2 separate regions of the Homo sapiens genome follow, and region 2 is linked to region 1. The links are contacts of gene promoters, found by promoter capture Hi-C in human tissues and cell types (Jung and others, 2019). All regions are on one chromosome and are shown on one strand. The core of a region is centred on a gene start or on the middle of the fragment in contact, and the rest is flanking DNA. Distances in the headings are between cores, read along the strand shown.

What was found. Contacts are between HindIII fragments. The study calls those that stand out against the background at their distance.
Region 2: a contact is called between a fragment that was not itself captured here and the fragment with the promoter of THUMPD2 in region 1, in 1 of the 25 tissues and cell types used here (hippocampus).

Annotation. Positions count from the first base shown.
Region 1 is chr2:39,777,799-39,782,489 of GRCh38, forward strand. THUMPD2 (THUMP domain 2 tRNA and snRNA guanosine methyltransferase) reads right to left here and starts at 1,460. Exons shown (of 10, transcript NM_025264.5): 1 at 1,316-1,460. The coding sequence starts at 1,441. The HindIII fragment of the contact is 6,344 bases long and covers 1-4,691 here.
Region 2 is chr2:39,514,884-39,519,936 of GRCh38, forward strand. MAP4K3-DT (MAP4K3 divergent transcript) reads left to right here. Exons shown (of 6, transcript NR_037875.1): 4 at 1,531-1,658; 5 at 3,700-3,827. Among named protein-coding and RNA genes, the nearest start is that of MAP4K3-DT, 80 kb to the left of the region's middle. RefSeq lists a silencer at 443-663 and enhancers at 752-1,344, 1,345-1,936, 1,937-2,529. The HindIII fragment of the contact is 5,186 bases long and covers 1,162-5,053 here.

The DNA of each region.
Region 1 (4,691 bases), core at 210-2,709:
CTGGTAATAAAGTTTTCCCCATTTCATTTGTCTTTAGAGAAGATGGAGAACAAGCAGAGAGTCTTTCCTTTTTCTAATAATCCTACATATTAATTGGGCCAAGCTCTCTCTCTCTTTCATACCAAGCACTCTAAGTTAGCATTTAAAAAAACAAGCCAGCGCACCCCTATGTCATGGTCATATAGTGGGCCTGGTTTGAACATGATTATATACTCATTCTTGATTTCCCAGCTCGGGTTTGAATCCCATCTTTGCGATTTTCTAGTTGCATGACTTGAATAAATTCTCGGACTTACCTGTGCTTCATTTTTCTCATCTGTTAAATGTGGAACACCTACCTTATAGGGCTGTTGTGAAAAGTACGCAAATAAATATAGGGTAAAGATCTAAGAACATGTGCCTGACACATATTAAATGTTCAATAAATGTCAGTAGTTATTATATATTGATGCTTTTTAAGATTAGCTACATTCAATACTCTATTAAATTCTGTGACCCAAAACACAAGTGGCAGGTAGTCTAACAAAACTGACATAATTCTTCACGACTCCAACCTTTCACTGCAGAAACTCCTTTTGTGGGCTTCCCACACTGTAGGAGCTGCCAGGGTGGAGGGGTTAATTTCATTTAGGAAGCTCTCCTTTTCCAAGAGTACATCACTCACAGTGTCCCATACACCCCATCAAGATACCTTTTCTATTATACCTTCATCCCCTACTTTCAAGAAACCAGTTTTCAACATTCTAAAACCTAAACCGATGCTTAAAACCTTGTTCATTTCACAGAAATCAATAACAGATAACTATGAGGCCTGCAAGAGTATATTATTTTTCTGGCTGCTATTTACTGCGTGTTTAAAGTGTACTTTGCATACGCTATATAATTTAATTCTCACAACAATCCTATGTAGTCAAATACAATCACTGTCAAGAAACTAACAAAAAGTCAGGTAACTGAACTTGGAGATTATGTTTGCATTTAAAGAGCGAAGGGTTCTAACTCTGACAGGCCAGATTCTAATTACAGGCACTACTTACTACTTTAAAGAATCCAGGAAATAACTTGCCTCAACACCTCTCTTAAAAACTTGAGCCCTGAGAAGTGAGGAACTGGATTTGCTATACAAGGAAAGAAAGGAATGGTGGCTTCTCTCGGCCGGAGCGGAAGCGCCTGCCAGTCAACCTCGGGGGTCGGCGACCGTCGCGTGGAACAGAGAGGGGCGCCAGCGACGCTTTCCCGCGTCCACGACTGGGGTGGGCAACAGGGCAGGGACAGGGCCGCCCACCTCCCCAGGCGCGCAGCGAGGCCAACTCACCTGCGTGGCCGCCAGCCGCGCCCGCACCTCTCGCATTACGAACGGCTCCAGGCCGCGACCCGCAGTGCAGAAGAATCGGGCGCCAGCCTCAGGCCCGGACCCTGGCTCTCCACGCGCCTCCGACATGGCGGCTCAGGCGCGCCCTCGCGCCTTCGGGTCACGTGGCCTCGGGCGCGAGCGGCTCGCTCCTGGAGGCGGCGCGCAGGGGCGTGTGATGCCAAAGGGGAGAGGGAGAGGGAGAGGGAGAGGGGGAGGGGGAGAGGGAGGGGGAAGGAGAGGGTGAGAGAGACGGAGAGCCTGGGAGGGTCGCATCAGCCCTCTGTGGCCCCTATGGGTCTTCCTGGTTGACCATCTGTCCCCTCCTTGATTAGGCACCAGAATGGGTTAGAATCACAGGTGGAAGGGTTAGAATTGATAATTCAGTCCAGTTGCCTTATTTTGTAGATTGAGGAAATTAATGCCCAGAGAGGTCAAGAGACAGCGAGTTAGCAGCACAGCTGAGGCTGGAGCCTAGATTTCTCCCTATCTAACATAATGCCTTTTCCTCCATTCCTCCCAACTCCGTCCTCTTCCTGTCCTTCATTCCTCTCCTCTACTCTTCTCATAGAAGGAGCCCTGGTCTGTTTTCACAAAGAATCGGGCCAAACGTTGGAATCTCCAGGACGGAGAGCAGAAGTTCCTGTTCTCTAACAAACGTCTGCGTTCTGAAACAGCTCATATTTCTTGCACTACTTAGTTAACCATCCAGCCATAGATGAATCAATGTGCCATCTAGTTTTGGGCACCTGATTTGAATGGTTCTCCTAACGGTATTTGAAGGCATTTTTCTAAACTCTGAATTTTAAAATGGAAATGAAAATATTACTTGGGAAGCATAGACAGAATCCATGTTACAAGATAAACAGCGTGAAATTAGCTCTGTAGCTGTATATTGAGTCAGTTATACAGAAATGATAAATGCATGTGTGTCTCTGACAAGGGGCTGTCCTGTGCTTCAGAATGGGATGTTAAGGTGAAGAACTGATACTCCCTCACCTCCCCCGACACTCCCACACACACCCCCGCCCCCACCCAGCTCATGCTCTACTGGGCCGTACAGTAAAAATTCTTCATGGAGTCACATAACATGAGCTTTTCCAAGGTTCAGTCCTAAGACTCTTCTGATGCTGCTTTTTATTTTTTATTTTTTGCGACAGGGTCTCCCTCTGTCGCCCAGGCTGGAGCGCAGTGACGTGATCTTGGCTCACTGCAGCCTCCACCTCCTGAGCTCCAGTAATCCTCCCACCTCAGCCTGTCCAGTAGCTGGGACCACAGGCAAGCCCCACCACACCGGGCTAATTTTTGTATTTTTTGTAGAGAAGGGGTTTCACCATGTTGGCCAGGCTGGTCTCGAACTCCTGAGATCAAGCGATCCGCCTGCCTCGGCCTCCCAAAGTGCTGGGATTACAGGCACCCAGCCCTCACACACTACCGTTTTGATGAATTCTTTTCTTGCCCTCAGACACATGTTTTCCTTTTCTGGGCTACTGCCGTAGTTCATTTTAACTTCTCTATACTTTGGGGTTCTGACTGTCAAGTCTGTCTGGGGAGGACAGGAACCCTCTTTAGTTCTCTCTACATTCTGTGCCCAAGATGTTAAGTATGCAGATAGGATGCATTCCATTCAGTTCAACAAATACTGAACACCTATTCTCCGCCAGTCACCACCCTGTCTTGAGGATTCAAAGATGGGTAAGCAAGGGTTTGGACTTCAAGGGCTTAGAGGATGGTGAAGTTGAATGACTCACTGAGGACATACCCGGGAAGCTATGACAGCACCGACAAAAAGGAGGCAGGGAGGGCTTCCTGGACAAAATCGCTCTTGAGTCCAGCATGAAGGATGTGTAAGAGGGAGAAGCAGCAGATGAAAATGAGACGGCGTGTGGGGGGTGGGGAACAGGAAAGCCACGATAGCGGTTAAGTGTTATTAGAGCATAAAGTATATGAGTGGAGTAGATAGAGATGCGGTAGAGCGGTGGGTAGGGGCCCAGTTATGTCAGTACAACCAAAGGCAGCTGAAAAAATGAAATGACCTATTCAGTCCAGCACCGACCAGCAGTGTGCTGGCCTGGGTGAAACCACAGCTGAGCTGAGGCTGCAGTTTTGCAGAGCCAATCGATCTTCCCCTTACTTTCTCCTCTTTCTTCTGATGTCTTTTCCCCTCCAGGAGCCTTTGGTCAGCAAGGTCGGGGCTACTCTTGTTTCATATGTGGGAGTCATGTGCATTTGTTCCTTTTGAACTGTGCTGCAGTATGTCAGCTGTACCAATGCCCTTCACAAAATGCTTGCAGTGCGATGGAATGGGGGAGTTCTGCCTCTTTAGGGAGAAATTAGTTTCGTTTTCTGGTAAGAGAGTTGCCTGGAATTCTCTCCCCCATTACTCAGGTACTCTTTTCTCCATCATCTCTTCTTCTTTAAAAAAGTCTCTTCTGAAAACTATGGATCCCTATAGACAAATTTAGCATATCCAGCTGCAATTTACTGTTCGAATATTACATATTTCAACATGTAGGAAATTGGAAGTCGGCAGGAACAATTTTAGAATGGACAGACTTTTAAGTGGAGGTGTTTTAAGAATTTAGGACAAGAATATTTGCTTTGAGATAGCTCCCTATTTTGGTGCCACTGGCAATTCTTTTAGTTCTTAAAGGTGTATGATGTATATACTTATATATTAAAATGCAAGTGCTATAGATTGTGAAATCCTTGAGGATGGGATGACTTCATCTGGGCATCTGTAGCGAGAACACTGGCTTGCCTGTGGTGGCCTCTCAAATGTATGCCAATAAAAAGTAACTAAATGAAAGGGCAACTAAGGAGGCCCCTCTCAGGAGAATTGCTGTAACTGCCCTATCAGCAGGGGCCTTTGCAAGCAGGATACAGGAATAAGGGCAATGTAGTGAGGCCAATGAAGTAGAGAAGTGAGAGCACAAAGGGGATAGGAGTACCTCCAAAATAAACTTCTTCACAACTTTCCTTTCTAGTTCCTCTCTTCCTCACTATCTCTTCTTCCTCCCTATACACTTTATAAATAATGTTTCTTACCCAGGAATACTCCTCAGAATTACCTGAGAAGTCACCAGTGTCAAGCTTGCCACCCCACTCTCCTGTATTCCAGTACAGTTGAGTAGGGTTGGTGACAAGCCTTGGCCTCTTCTCTCCATGAGATGAAGAACCGTTGCTAGATGCCAAGCAATTCAAGTGCTAACGTCTTCAAAATGCCCACTACTTCCCTTCTCCCAGGCCTCTGCTTATATGGTTCCCTTTGGCTAGAGCGCTCTTCTCTTCCTTTCTTTCTTTTTCTTTGAGGATAAGCTAGAATGCCACATCTTCTCTG
Region 2 (5,053 bases), core at 2,505-5,004, 260 kb before region 1:
AGAAGCTATTTCTAAATTTTTGAAGGTCTTCTGTCTAGTCCTGAGGCCTTTAGTCTCAGAGAATTAAATTGTCTTACCCAGGGTCGGTCATACAGACTGCCAAAGCCTGGCCTGGCATCCAGGTGCAATGTTCATCTGTGTTACCAGTTCCTCCATGCTAACCTGACAATGACTCACAATTCCTTATAGCACAGTGTTCCAAAGTCTGAGCCACAGACCACCTGTACTAGTAGCAGCCGGTGGGCTTGATAAAAATGCAGATTCCTGGCTCCCTGACAGTCCCGTGCTATCAGATTCTGTAAAGTTTAAAAGTAATGATTTATAAATTTCCCAGACCCGGGTTATACTTTTATATGGAAACATAATGCCTGAATCTGACAGAGCGCTTTTTCATGGAGGAAAGTTGGGACTCTTGGGCAGACTTCCTGTTGCTTTCGTACTCTACAGGTGTTCCTGACCCTGGTATGTATACAGCCATCTCCGCCCTACCTACTTACTTCCTTCCCCCAGAACTTCCTAAAGTGGTTAGGAACAATTGTTGTGAAGGTCACAGCAGACCATTTCTGTGAATGCGAGATGTGTTGGTGCAATTTGAAAAGGTCAATTTGATTGACGCCTGAGCCACAGTGATAACCCAAGGCAGCAGCCCTGTCACTGCTAGCTCCCAACAGTGGTGGCATCTGCAGCCTCGAGCAAAGAGATTGTTTAAACTGATGGAGGGGAAGCTTTAGTTCTTATTTCTGGGAGATTGAGTGGCACCAGGAGAAAGGCTGATCACTAGTTGCAACTTCCTCTGTATTTACAATAGCGTTTGCTGCTAGTTTAGCTGTGTTTAGACTAAAGGTGGGGGCAAAAATTACCCTTCCTCTAAAGCTATGAACCCTGACCTCTCAGTCTAGAGAGAGATGGACTCTGGATATGTGGACAGGCTCTGCGAGATTCTTCCTGACAAGGGCTGTATGAGCCGGCTTTCAGAAGGAACTTATTCATGACGGTGGATCACTATTCAGAGAGACACACTCTTTCTCAAAGAAATGACAGGGGCAGCAGGGACCACATTAAGTTTTGATAGGGTCCTGCAGCTGTTGGGGCAAAAGGGTCTGCCTTGGCCTCTGGGGGTCTCTGCACTGCAGAACTGCAGTGGATGTACAGGGATTGCCGGGGGTTGCAGAAGGATTTTGCGATATGCATTCATGTCAGCTTCAAAGTGCCCAAAATGAGCGTGAAAATGCTGTCAGAAAGGCAGTTATTGCTACCTGAAGTCCCTGTTGGAACAAAGTGCAAATTAAATACTGGTAAAAGAAAACAAAGCAGATCATTGTTGTGTAGCAAATGTCACTGTCCTGTGTACCTATCTGGCCTACTGGCTGACTCCAGGAGGTGGGAGGTGCGACTGCATGGAGCCACGTTCGGCCTCCTACCTTCAAAGCTGGTTACATCTCTGAATGGGGAGCTGGTGAGAAAGAGCTCTCCTTGATAAAACATCATTTTTGCCCTTCCCAATCTATTCTTTCCTTTTCTGTTTTCTAGGAAGAAGAGGATTTATCTGACTCAACTGGAGATGGCTCCCTTCCCTTATTTATTGTTGCATCCTGAAGCTTCCCCCATGCTGGGCTCAGTGTGAACAAACAGCGCGGGAGAATGCAACCACTGCAGAGGTACAAGTTCACAGAGGCAGAGCCGCCCCTCGACTGGGCCAGAGGCAAAGACAAACCCCAAACTCTTTCTTGTCATTCATTGAATTTTGCTGAACCTGGAAAGGAAATAAATTCCAAAGGCAGGAAGTGACCCAGAGACCATAACAATATGTGAAAAGCTTAGCCGGTGCTTCCGCCCCTTTGTTTCAAACTATTCTAATCTGTGTCCCAGGAAGCCTAGCCCATGGCCAGATGGAGATCTGTTTGCAGATGCCTCCTGGCATCTGCCACTCCCGGCTGGTGACATTTGCACATTTCAGAAGGCAAACCTGTCCCAACATCTTCAAACTTCCAGAGAGGTGTAGCACCAGGAAAGTCCTTGGGTCTCTGGCTGTCAGCACCAACCAGCTGATTTGCTTCATCTGCAGCTGAACTGCTGCTGGACTCCAGCCTAGAACACTAGTGCACACCGGGTCTGTTCTTGAAGATTTGCAGATTCTGAAATCAAAATGCCCTGTGTTGCCAGAAAAGGCTGGCTCCCTTGCCTGCTTCATAATCCCTTCTCACCAGGCTTTCCTAAAGAAACTCAATGAGTCAGGAAGGAAGAAAACATGTCTGAGGGAGATCTGGAGGTGGGCCGTTCTCTATCATTGCTTCTGAAAATTCCCTTCTGTTTTGCAATGTGGGTAATGTTTAGGGATTTGCTTTTAGTTTTTCTCTGTTTCTTCCTCTGTCAGCTCTCACTTTGAGAGACCCTTCATTTACCACTCATGAAATTAGCTCTGCAATCGCAGGAGGCTCTCTGATGGGGAATTAGTCACTGTTGCAAAAAAGTTTAGACTTTACTTTCATCCCCAGGAGCAGGGCAAGAAATTGTTCCCACCCTGCTCTCAGAAGGAACCATCACTCAACTGCTCTGCTCTGCTCTGGCTCTGGGGCCTGTACTTTTCCTAGGCTTTTAATTTTTACTGCGTACCTTCCATCAGCCTTCTTACTGAAGGCTGTATGCCAGCTGATGTCTATGCACAGCAAGGTGGCTTCTGGGACACCTGCTTCAAACAGGTATCCAGCTAACTGCTCCCCACCAAACCCCACCAGGTAATTGGAAAGGAACTTGGAGTTGAGTGAATACCTGTTTCAAAATGTTAAGTAGATCAAAGTGTAAAGAATCCAATATATTTGTTGACAACTGATTTATAGAAAACCCCAGCAAGAAAGAAGGGAGAGGTTCAGCCTCAGGCTGGTGAAAATGAGATCGTGGGTAGGGCACCACTGTACAGCATTCTGGCATCAGACCTCTGTCCTAAGGTGCGAAGTCACTCTGTGCTACTATCTGAAATTGTGTTCTGTTTATTATGAAAGAGGTTTTCAAAAGTGTTTTGATAAGCTTGGATTTATCTCTGGAAAGGCAATATGGTCTCCATTACAAGACAGGAGCTTAATATCAGAGACAGGTTGTATCAATGTATGTAGCTGCTAGTAAATAGTAGATAAAAGAAGCTTCAGAAAGGTCGGGGGAGGGAGTCTTTTCTTGTTAGGAAGGAACAATCTTGCAGGGGATGTGAGAGATTTTCTCTTTCTCCTTTCCTCTGCCTATGGAAAATCAAACAGGAGAAAGCTAGAAATATGAGACAGAGAGAAGTAATTTCTCCAACTATTGACACTGGCCAAACAAGATAAATAGTTCATATTCTGATGATGATGACAACAGTTATGATGAGAAGATATTGACCCAGAGGAAGAAAACAAAGGCTTTTGATTTCAAGTTGTGTGTAAGCCCCAAAGAATTGTTGTCAGAGTCACTTTTATGATCTATGGGACTTTTGGCTACAATTATAAGAATTTAGCGTGAGTGAAATAAATATAATTGGTCAGAAAAATCAGTATTAGATTAAGACACGATTGAAAATGGTTAACCATTAGTAAGAAGTATACCAAATTACACGTATTTTTGTGCTTCTTTCAGTCTTGATCTAATTATCTGTTAAAAAGTAACATAGTTAAGAACTGTATTCTGGTTTAAATATAACACAAAGCAAAATATTTTATTGTGCTCTCTTAGGCATATGTTTGAGATACCTGGCCACTGGAGGTCATCTCGTCTACTATATTCACCGCAGATAAAGAATGAAAAGAGAATACACAACCTTGTGATTGCTAGCAGTGAAAGCTCAGAGTTATGACATAACAGTAAGTGTTATATTCTACATAACCTTAGGTTTAACAGAGGTAGTTACTAGATACTTAAAGAACATGCTTTTATTTTGCACAAGAGAAAATGGAATTAAAAATGGGAAAAGAATAGAGTCATGACTCCCAAACTGTGTCCTAGGCACCCAAGACTTTGCAGCAAACTTAGAGGGGGGCTGTGGCATAGTTTAAATATCAAGGAAGTATAGTGGCACTTGACATCTGTTGGATATCAACTGAACTATTAGCTCAAGGTAGTTCATTGTTCCAACATTAGATTGCGCTACATTTCTTCCAAAAATGTCCTGTCTTTGGGAAGCTGAGTTTTCAGCAGTTGTTGTAAAATGCAAGTACCCAGAGAAAATCAGTGTGGAATAGGAGGTGAAGGTGCTTGTGTCCACATGGGTTCCAAGATTTGGGAAGATATTTGGTGCCCAATTGGCATACACATCCCTTTTTCTTTTTTTTGGATGGAGTCTCACTCTGTTGCCAGGTTGGAGTAGAGTGGCGCGATCTCAGCTCACTGCAACCTCCACCTCCTGGGTTCAAGCAATTCTCCTGCCTCAGCCTCCCAAGTAGCTGGGACTACGGGTGCACGCCACCATGCCCAGCTAATTTTTGTATTTTTAGTAGAGACGGGGTTTCACTATGTTGGCCAGGATGGTCTCAATCTCTTGACCTTGGGCACACACATCCTTTTAAAAGTAACTGAGTATTTAAGAATGAAATAAATTTTTTTCTTTCGATTTATGTGTATAATTTTTTTCAAACAACTAAGTTGTTGGGACTTAACTACTGGATAAATGGAATTTTGGGTAGGTATTTCTTTTTGCCTAGGGACTCTGTGAAAAAATTACAGGGATACAAAATGCTGTGACATGAGACAGTTTGGGAACTCTGAATTAGAGCAATACAAAGGTAGATTTTAATGGTTCAGGCTCATTGGTCAGAATTAGAAAGTGGTTAGATCCTCCTCTCCCCACACCAGCCAGGACACTGCTCCCAGGATTTTTCCCTGTTCCCATATGAAATAAGCAATCTTAGTCTAAATTTTTAAATTAATACAACCATTTGGTAGACTATTAAAAGTTATATGACACAAAGCTTCTCAAAATATCTCCAATGCAGGACTTTTTTTTTTCTTTTTAATTTTTTAATCTGTCATGGACTACATGATGGTTAATTTTATGCACCAACTTATCTGGACTACAGTGCCCAGATATTTG